Regions from separate parts of the Homo sapiens genome. Here regions 2 and 3 are each linked to region 1. Evidence: promoter capture Hi-C in 16 types of primary human blood cells and fetal thymus (Javierre and others, 2016). All regions are on one chromosome and are shown on one strand. Each heading gives the region's core, a stretch centred on a gene start or on the middle of the fragment in contact. The rest is flanking DNA. Distances are from core to core; before and after follow the strand shown. Region 1 holds the start of MTDH (metadherin). Region 2 holds the start of PABPC1 (poly(A) binding protein cytoplasmic 1). Region 3 overlaps VIRMA (vir like m6A methyltransferase associated).

Region 1 (3,216 bases), core at 544-3,043:
GCACTGCCCTCCAAACACCAGAGTGCAAATTTCACATGGTAGGGCCTTCGTACTGGCTTACTGAATTGTACTGAAAAGGTGAAGATCTTAATTCGCTGGATATAAAAATAGGTTAGGTGCTGTTTCTAACTCTGCATACCCTCCATAGTCTCAATTTGCTCAAATGTAAAATATTTTTAAAAATACATAAAACTATGAAAGATATAATGGGAGAACCATGGGAATGGCAATAAAGAATGTAAACGTAAAACATGAAGGCCTAAGACAGACGTGATGCCCTCTGCAACTTCCACACGTGGCCCAGTAAATCGGTGCCTGAATTCCTCTCTCGGCTTTCACCATTCTGCCCTGTCATCTCCCTTTACTCTATTTCACAAATCTACCACGCCACAGAGTGTGCAACAGACTCGTTCGTTGAACTCGCCTTAGCTCTTTCTCACAGGACCATACACCTCAAAGCGTATTAGGTAACCGACCCCCTCTTGCCTTGCTCCCGTTCCGGCCTCTGTTGGCCACATTTGCCAGAACAAGAATGGGCAACCATTTCCCTTTAACAGTCCCAACTAAAATGGAAGCGCGTCTAGACCTGGACACCTTTAATCCTGTGTAAGCCCCAGAATTTCTAGGTCACCGCACTTCTTCCACTGCCTACTGTCTCAATGTGACTTGAGATAGACATCTGTCTTCCGAGCGCAGTCTTTATACAACTTCCTAACACCACCTTAAGGTCCCATTACGCTCCACATGCAGCCTACTCTGCAGGCCTCAAGGAAGGATGCTGTGCTTATTCTAGCGGTGACGGTTCCCAAAGATGGCTTGACCTCTGGGCGCCTATCTGAACGGACCCCCAGACCTCCTAACTTCCTTCCTCGAAACTGGGCTTCCCCACTCGTCCTATACTTCCTGAGTTCCCCCCATTCCCCAAATAACATGACCACCTATCACCTCCTCCTCCACTTGGGAGTGCTGCCTCTCGGCTTTCGACTAAGCACTCTTTTCCTTCCCGGCTGGGGCGCGGCCTCCCCCAAGCTCGAGGGTCTCCACGCCCGCCCTTCGCCCGTTCTCTACTGCCGCTCATCCCATACTCACTTTGGGCTTCTCGGACAGTTTCTTCCGGTTCTTCTTCTTCTGTTCCTCGCTCCGGAGATTCTTCAGCAAGGCCAGGTCGTCGGGGGCCGCGGCCGGCACGGCCGCCGCCTCCTCCCGCTTGCGGGGCGGGCTCCTCCGCTTTTTGCGGGCGCCGGCGCAAGCCGCGGCCCAGCCGTAGCCCAGCAGAAACAGCAGCAGCAGCCCGAGCGCGCCAGTGCCCACCAGGATCACCCAGCCGGGGTACCGTTTCGGCTCCAGCCCCAGGTCGAGGCCCAGCTCGGTGCGCAGAAAGCCTAGGCCGACCGAGAGCATTTCCCGCAGCCGGGCCGAGCCCTCCTCGGCCTGCTGGGCCAGCTCGTCCTGCCAGCTCCGTGCAGCCATCTTCCCTCCCGTCAGAGGGACTCGCAGGATGACGCCGGGGCGCGGAGACGCAGTGGAATAGTCGAGGGAAGCGAGGAAGGGCCGGGCCGGGTAACCTCAGGCCGAGCGCATCGCGGCCGTCCCTCGCGCCGGAGCCGGGGATCGGCCGCTGCCACCGCGGGGAGGGCGGAGGGGTCTCCCAGGTTCCCCGCTGTCAGCCTCACTCCGCCGCCGCCAGGAGACCCGGGAGGCGGGAGGGAGTGTCTCCAGTGGCGGCCGCTAAGCGGCGTCTCGGCGCCAGCGCCAGGCCCCGCTGTCCTCCCTCGGCGGAACAATGGCGGCTTGGGCCGCGATCCACGCCGCGCGCGGGGACGACCGTGGGTCACGTGGGCGCCAGTGGGCGGGGCGTGGGCGTCACGTGGGGGCGGGCGGGGTCGGGTGGGGCAAAGGCGTGTCAGGGAAGGTTGGCGGTGGTCGGTTCGGGCCTGGTTAAGACGCGGCGTTGGGGACCCGTTACTGTAGACCAGAAGCTGGGAGGGGTTAATTGGTGGACGCCTTCGCGGGGTGGCTGGTGGCGCAGAGTTAGGAGACGTGGCGCAACGAATGAGTACAGAGGAGGGGCTCCGTGCAAGGCGGGGGCGGGCGGGGGGCGGGTAGGGCTGCAGCGCTAGGAACCGGGTCACCGGGTCTAGGTCAAAGTCGCCCTGGCAGGTATAGGGCTCTTCATGCCTTTTTCTGGAGTGTTATTGAGGTGGAATCGCTTTTTCTCCCTGGTGGCGCCAGTTGGATCCTTCCAGAATGAGCTCAACGGAGTCTGACGCCGAACACTGTTCTTCCGGGACCTAGGTTTAGTTCACAAATTGGGTATTTCTCTCCAGGGTGTTTCTCTCCAGGGCAACTAATACACTGCGTGCCTACCAGTTGCCAGCCTGGCGAGGGCACGTTTGCGTCGTTTGGCTCATTCACTCTTGCTCTCTGTTGTTAGTCCCCAGAATTCAAAAGTTGGAAAGCCCGTGGGCGGCACTATTCTTTTCCTACTAATTTGTAGCTTTAATAACACATAAGGGGAAGCACATTAGATTGTATTTACTTATGGAGGGAGCTTTCTCGTTACGTTTTATTTTAAGCTTTTCTACAACACTGCAAAAGGGGTTTGCAAAAATTCCATTTTTATATGCTATGTTGACCATCTCTGGGATGCAGCTATAGAAGGAAACGAACTGCCTTTTCAAATTTTTTTTTTTTGAGACAAGAGTCTCGCTCTGTCGCCCGGGCTGGAGTGCAGTGGCACTATCTCCGCTCACTGCAAGGTCCGCCTCCTGGGTTCAAGCCATTCTCCTGCCTCAGCCTCCCGAGCAGCTGGGACTATAGGCACCCACCACCACGCCCGGCTAATTTTTTGTATTTTTAGTAGAGACGGGGTTTCACCGTGTTAGCCAGGATGGTCTTGATCTCCTGACCTCGTGATCCGCCCACCTCAGCCTCCCAAAGTGCTGGGATTACAGGCGTGAGCCACCACGCCAGGCCTTCAGGTTTTAATTATAAGGGAAATGCTTGAAGGCTGCCTTAGGGTTTTAAGATTATATTTTGCTATAAGGAAACTCTGTATTTTATCGGTAAATGATCATTAGCGTGTAAGCAACTGTCTTAAGTGAACTAAATACAGGCTTTCTCAAGGAATACAGCAGGGGTAATATTAATAACCACCAAATACCAAAAATGTATTTTGACCTATTTTGCAACAGTGTCGTAATGCATATTGTGATT
Region 2 (3,192 bases), core at 280-2,779, 3.1 Mb before region 1:
TTTAAATTCTAATTAAATGAGACAAGATATAAAGTACTTAATTCCACACCTAGCAATACAGTTGACATCCATTAAAGTTTATTGAATTAAGGAATAAATTGGGCAATCATTTAACTTCTTTGAGACTGTTCCTGTAACAGTAAAGTAAAATTATTACTACTTGCTCCACCTCCCACACCAGATTGCTCTCAGGAACAAATGATAGTATGTTTACGCGAGTGCTTTAAAAACTGTAAAAGCACTTTACTACTTTCGAGTGGAATTTGTATGTTGATTTAATGTCATTCCTAGAGCCGGTTTTTATTACTATCAATTCGTTAAATTTAGCATTCCTATTAAAACCCACTACTAATGTGCAGAATTGTTTTAGTTATTTATAAGGACGTTGTTTTAGACTATTCCTAATTTTGTCTGGTTGCAGGGCTGTGGTGCCATATAGTAGTGATTGTGACAAACCCGTACTTTCAGGAAAAACATTCACTTTTCTCCACTCCTGGTTTCTATCGCCAAGAAATGTCTGGCAGAAGCAGCACAAATCAATGATTCCAGCCTAGCACCTTAAGGTAAGAAGTGACCAAAGACCCCCAACACAGCTATCCCAAATTAAAGCCACTTTGACCAACGACAACGTCCAGTGAAGACACGGAGGAGGGTCGGGCTGGAAAAGAAGAGGACGAGGAACCCGAGGGGCCCTCCCCTCTCTCTCCCTGCCCCCCAACCCCGCGCCGGGAGCTCCAGCGGTGCCGGGGTCCAGCGCGCAGGACGGTTGGGGGGTCCCGGAGCGGGCGGCCAGGACCCGCGCAGCCAGTTGGTGTCAGCGAGCGCCGCGGCCGTTGGGGACTCCAGCTCCCAGCAGGCACCGCTTCTGCGGCCGACGCGCGTGGCGGCGGTGCCGGCTGGGACTCGTAGTGCGGTCCGGGTAGGAGAGAGCAGGGGGCCACGCTGGCTCCATCTACGCACGTTTCGGAAACCGGGCCCGGAGGGGACCACGCCCGCTCACCCGTGCCCGGCGTCCCCCGGAGCTGGGGCTAGAGGAGCCGGGCCGGCCGCAGCGGGAAGAGGCCACAGGCGGCCGCGCACGTGGGGGGTGGTTAGCGCGGAGGAACCCGGAAGCCCTTTGCACCGCCCACCGCCGCGGTGACGGGTTAACGCTCCTCCTGGTGGAGGCAGGGGCGGGCGGGGCGGAAGGCGGGGACGCCTCAGCCAACACCCCCGAGGACCGCCCGCGAGCCGTCCTCCCCACCCCCACGGACGCGACGCAGCGCGGGCTCCGCTTCCCCGGCCGCGGCGCCTGCGCAAAAGCCCCGCCCCTTCGCCCGAGCCCCACCCCCACACCGCAGCCTCCACCGCCGCCACCTCTCCCTTCCTCTCTGCTCTTTCCTCCTGTTTTCTCTTCCCTCCTCCCCCTGGCCTCCGCGTCTCCTCCTACTCCGGCGCTGACGCTCGCGTAGGGGCCCTGGCGTCAGACGCGCGGGGGCGGGGCGAGTGCGGCGCGGGGTATAAGTAGAGGGTGCAGGAGGCGGTGCTTCCCCTTCTCCCCGGCGGTTAGTGCTGAGAGTGCGGAGTGTGTGCTCCGGGCTCGGAACACACATTTATTATTAAAAAATCCAAAAAAAATCTAAAAAAATCTTTTAAAAAACCCCAAAAAAATTTACAAAAAATCCGCGTCTCCCCCGCCGGAGACTTTTATTTTTTTTCTTCCTCTTTTATAAAATAACCCGGTGAAGCAGCCGAGACCGACCCGCCCGCCCGCGGCCCCGCAGCAGCTCCAAGAAGGAACCAAGAGACCGAGGCCTTCCCGCTGCCCGGACCCGACACCGCCACCCTCGCTCCCCGCCGGCAGCCGGCAGCCAGCGGCAGTGGATCGACCCCGTTCTGCGGCCGTTGAGTAGTTTTCAATTCCGGTTGATTTTTGTCCCTCTGCGCTTGCTCCCCGCTCCCCTCCCCCCGGCTCCGGCCCCCAGCCCCGGCACTCGCTCTCCTCCTCTCACGGAAAGGTCGCGGCCTGTGGCCCTGCGGGCAGCCGTGCCGAGATGAACCCCAGTGCCCCCAGCTACCCCATGGCCTCGCTCTACGTGGGGGACCTCCACCCCGACGTGACCGAGGCGATGCTCTACGAGAAGTTCAGCCCGGCCGGGCCCATCCTCTCCATCCGGGTCTGCAGGGACATGATCACCCGCCGCTCCTTGGGCTACGCGTATGTGAACTTCCAGCAGCCGGCGGACGGTGAGCGCCGGGCTCCGCGGTCGGCCGGGCGGGCGGGCGGCCATGAGGCTCGGGCGGCGGCGGCGGGCGGGGTAGGCCGGCGGGCCCGGGGAGGGGGGCGGGAGGGCATGTCACCCCGCGACGGCCGGCGGGAAGGCGCCGGGGTCCCTGGAGCCGCGTTTCCCGAGCCGGCGGGGACCCGCGCTGCCGGCAGCCACACGCCCGGCTACTTCCTCCTTTGCGACCATTTTCTCGGCCTCAGACGCTCTCAAACTTTAGGGTGATGACGCGCCGGGAGGGTGGGTGAGATTCGGTTCCTCCGCGGCGCTCCCGCCAGTGGCCCCGGGATTCTGGGGCGTTGAACGCTGAGCTCCTTCCGTGGGTAAGAGGTGGAGGCGCTCCCACCACCCGGAGCTCCTGCCGGCGCCCCAGCCTGGGGAGGAAGTGCAGTTCTGTGCTCGAAAAATACCACGTGTTGAACCCTGTAACCTCGCAGGCCCGAGGCCTGCTTCTGCTCCTGCTCCTGGCCCAGTCGCCTGGGGGAGCCACCAGGCCTTAGGATAAAGTTCCTGTGGCGATGTGTGGTGTGGTGGTGGTCCTCAGGCTTGTGAGTCCACTTCCCAGAACTCATCAGTGACTGATGGATCTAGGAATGGAATTTACCGGAGACATGCATTTGGGGTTTCCCCTAGATCAAGCATTTCTCTAACATTAAAAGGGCAGAGTGGGAGGAGGGGATGTGGCAGCCGACCACTTTGAAGGCCAGTTTTCTCAGGCAACTTAGACCATTTTTAGTCAAATTTTATCTTAGATTCACAGTACTGGTGGTTTTCGAGTATATTATGTTACCTTCTGAAATAGTTCCTGTCGTTTTGAGGGGCTTTTCTTTATAAAATAGTCAACTTTGGCTATAAAATGTTACTTTAGTGTAATTCCAACTGGACCAGTCTTATCTGTAGCATGCAAGAAGTTCAAGTTTCTCTTTTA
Region 3 (3,486 bases), core at 201-2,700, 3.1 Mb after region 1:
GAGCTAAGATCACACCACTGTGCTCCAGCCTGAGCAACAGAGTGAGACCCTGTCTCGAAAGGAAGAAAGAGAAAAAGGAAAAAGAGAAAGAGGCATGTGATGAATTAGTTTAGTACTATTCTAGTTTAGGAAAATTGGCCTTCATTAGTTTATCATGTATTTCTATTCTTTTATTCATTCTTAGGTAAACATTGAATACCTTGAGAGCATAGGGCAGATGGTAAATGCTTTCTTCTGGGGTGATTGGGGAAGGCTTAGCAGAGATCACATTTAAATCAAGTCTTGAAGGAGGAAGTAGGGGTTTGTGGGTGATACGAAATATTGAAATGTTTGTTTTCAAGAAGTTATAACTCAGTATTGGAGATTAGATTCACAAAATTGTGATTTGAGTTAGAATGTGATGATCACATAAAGAAGCACAGTGTGAATTCGTTGGGGTTTATCATCTTAGTTTACAAAATGCCCATCAGTATCTGACGTATTAGAACTAGCTCCCTTTGTGGGTATAAATAAAAGATACAAGATTTCAGAAGAGGCAGAGATAACTTTTCATTTGAGTGTATCAGGAAAGACTTCATCAAGGTGTTTGGCTTATGAACTTGGTCTTTGGTGAAAGGGGCAATATTTCACAGTTGTAGTTAGGAAAGGAGGGCATTCTACTGGGGTAGTCAGTCGTCTGTTAGGGTATGCTTGAAGTAGCAGTGTGAAGTGGCACCCAAGGCAATTCAAAGACAGATCATGGAGCTCCTTGAATGCTCGACAAAGAATTACAGACTTTAGGCCAGGCGCAGTGGCTCACGCCTGTAATCCCGGCACTTTGGTGAGGCTGAGGTGGGTGGATTGCCTGACGTCAGGAGTTCGACACCAGCCTGGGTAACACAGTGAAACCCCGTCTCTACTAAAATACAAAAAATTAGCTGGGCGTGGCGGTGTGCGTCTATAGTCCCAGCTACTCGGAAGGCTGAGGCAGGAGAATTGCTAGCACCCGGGAGGAGGAGGTTGCTGTGAGCCAAGATCACGCCACTGCACTCCAGCCTGTGCGACAGAGCAAGACTCTGTCTTTTAAAATAAATAAATACATAAATAAATAAAAATTATGGACTTTATTTTGTAGGAAATGGGTAGTTTTTGAGCAGGCGAATCATACAATTAGTAAGATACATTAGATAGATTACTTGATCAATAATACTTAAAATGGTTCAGAGAAGGCCAGGCGCCGTGGCTCATGCCTGTAATCCCAGCACTTTGGGAGGCCGAGGCAAGCGGATCACGAGGTCAGGAGATCGAGACCATCCTGGCTAACATGGTGAAACCCTGTCTCTACTAAAAATACAAACAAATAGCCGAGCGTGGTGGCAGGTGCCTGTAGTCCCAGCTACTCAGGAGGCTGAGGCCGGAGAATGGCGTGAACCCGGGAGGCAGAGCTTGCAGTGAGCCGAGATTGTGCCACTGCACTCCAGCCTGGGTGACAGAGCGAGACTCCGTCTCAAAAAGAAAAAAAAAAAAAATGGTTCAGAGAAAATAGAGGTGAGGTGACAAAATCAGAGAGAAAAAGTGAGATGTTATGAAAACCTGAGTTAGCCAATGGGCAGTAAGCATTGTTTAACATTTATTGAATGCTTAATTTGTGCCAGACACAGTGGGCTTTGATAACTTAAGTAAATCATCTCTGGTCCTTCCATCAGTTTTTTTTTTTTTTTTTAAGACTAGGTCTTGCTCTGTCACCCAAGCTGGAGTGCACTGGTGCGATCACAGCTCACTGCAATTTCTCCCACCAGGGCTCAATCGATCCTTCCATCTCAGCCTCCCGAGTAGCTGGGACTACAGTTGTGCACCAACACGCCTGGCTGATTTTCATATTTTTTTGTAGAGACGGTGTTTTGCCATGTTTCCCAGGCTGGTCTTGAATTCCTGAGCTCAAGCGATTCTCCCACCTCAGCCTCCCAAAGTGCGAAGATTACAGGCGTGAGCCACTGCAGGGCCCACGCTGAGTTTTCAAAGGTAGTCATCTACATTTTATAGATAAGGAAACTGAGCCTGAGAGATGAGGTGACTTTCCTAAAATAGCATAGCTAGATTAAGATCCACCATCATACATTTTTCTGGCTCTAAGGCAGTGCTATGCTGTGTCCCAGTGGAACTACGTAGGAGAGGATTTATACAAGTTTTGGATATGTACAAATTTCGAGTATAGAATTGACAGGATGGCAACTGATTATGTGAAGGAGATAGGGTAGTTAAAAATGGTAAAATTCTAGTTTTAGAGACAGGAGAACTAGTGGGACTAATGATGGTAAGAGTGTGGAAGTGAGTTTGATGGGAACGGGATAATTAGCCAGATTAATTTGCCCCATAGGAAGTTGAGAATCTGTTTAACAATTATTTATGAAAAACACTTTTGAAGGTGAGGGTATGGCTTTAGGAGGGGCAATACAAGTCAGAACAAAGCCCATTGCCCTTGATTTCAAAGGAATTTGTAATATGGTAGAGAAGAGACATTTATTAGTTTCACACAGGGAATCTTTATTGCCAGCTGCCATTAACAGCTCTTTTTTTGGTATTGTATTTGTTTTACCAATAATTTCCTCTTCTCCACATAAACAATTGATACACATTTATAAGGCCAATCCACTGAGTTCAGAAGATAAGCAGTTAAACTTATTAAAAGACAATTTGATTGTGAGGGAATAGTGTTCCCGTGAATGAAAAAACACTTAACATTACAAATCAAGAATGCAAGATAAGCCAGGTGTGGTGGCATGTGTGCCTGTAGCCCCAGCCTGGGAGGCTGAAGTGGGAGGATCACTTGAGCCCAGGAGTTGGGAGGACAGCCTGGGCAACATAGCAAACGCGGTGGCTCATGCCTGTAATACCAGCACTTTGGGAGGCTGAGGCAGGGGGATCACGAGGTCAGGAGATTGAGACCATCCTGGCTAACCTGGTGAAACCCTGTCTCTACTAAAAATACAAAAAAAATTAGCCAGGCGTGATGGTATGCGCCTGTAGTCCCAGCTACTCAGGAGGCTGAGGTAGGAGAATGGCGTGAACCTGGGAGGTGGGACTTGCAGTGAGGCTAGATCGTGCCACTGCACTCCAGCCTGGGCGACAGAGCGAGACTCTGTCTCAAAATAAATAAATAAATAATAAAAAAATATAAAAAAGCACACTATATCTCTAATGTTAACATATACAATATTAGAAAAAGTTGTTTAAGTTAAAATCAGATTTAAGCAAGGTTATTTGGTAAACAAGTATATGAGTGGAAAGCTATTGTATTTGTATATTCCTGTTGATGAGTGAATTAATTTCCTTTCTGTATCTCTCCCTATTGTAATCAGCTTTTACTTTGTATTTTACACTGTAATTAACAGCTGTCTTTATATTAATATTTTTCCAAATCCTCTAGTGAATATTATGCTTAAATGTATACACCCGTTGCCCACGTTAATATTACAATACTGTAATACTGTTTTGTGGTTTCGTTTT

The links. The method cuts DNA at HindIII sites, captures the fragments that hold promoters and counts their contacts. A CHiCAGO score of 5 or more calls a contact.
Region 2: a contact is called between the fragment with the promoter of PABPC1 here and the fragment with the promoter of MTDH in region 1, in 1 of 17 cell types (total B cells). The highest score is 5.5, in total B cells.
Region 3: a contact is called between a fragment that was not itself captured here and the fragment with the promoter of MTDH in region 1, in 2 of 17 cell types (total B cells and naive CD8 T cells). The highest score is 9.7, in total B cells.

The regions. Positions count from the first base shown.
Region 1 is chr8:97,642,761-97,645,976 of GRCh38, reverse strand. MTDH (metadherin) reads right to left here and starts at 1,793. Exons shown (of 12, transcript NM_178812.4): 1 at 1,090-1,793. The coding sequence starts at 1,470. RefSeq lists silencers at 664-832, 1,116-1,185, 1,456-1,915, 2,096-2,205 and enhancers at 1-962, 963-1,943. The HindIII fragment of the contact is 3,502 bases long and covers 1-2,578 here.
Region 2 is chr8:100,720,425-100,723,616 of GRCh38, reverse strand. It overlaps PABPC1 (poly(A) binding protein cytoplasmic 1), which reads left to right and starts at 1,529. Exons shown (of 15, transcript NM_002568.4): 1 at 1,529-2,226. The coding sequence starts at 2,034. RefSeq lists enhancers at 402-902, 903-1,403, 1,458-2,290 and silencers at 693-1,402, 1,483-1,562, 2,243-2,352. The HindIII fragment of the contact is 6,173 bases long and covers 1-3,192 here.
Region 3 is chr8:94,548,313-94,551,798 of GRCh38, reverse strand. All of the region lies in intron 1 of VIRMA (vir like m6A methyltransferase associated), which reads left to right. Among named protein-coding and RNA genes, the nearest start is that of VIRMA, 3.4 kb to the left of the region's middle. The HindIII fragment of the contact is 4,218 bases long and covers 1-3,486 here.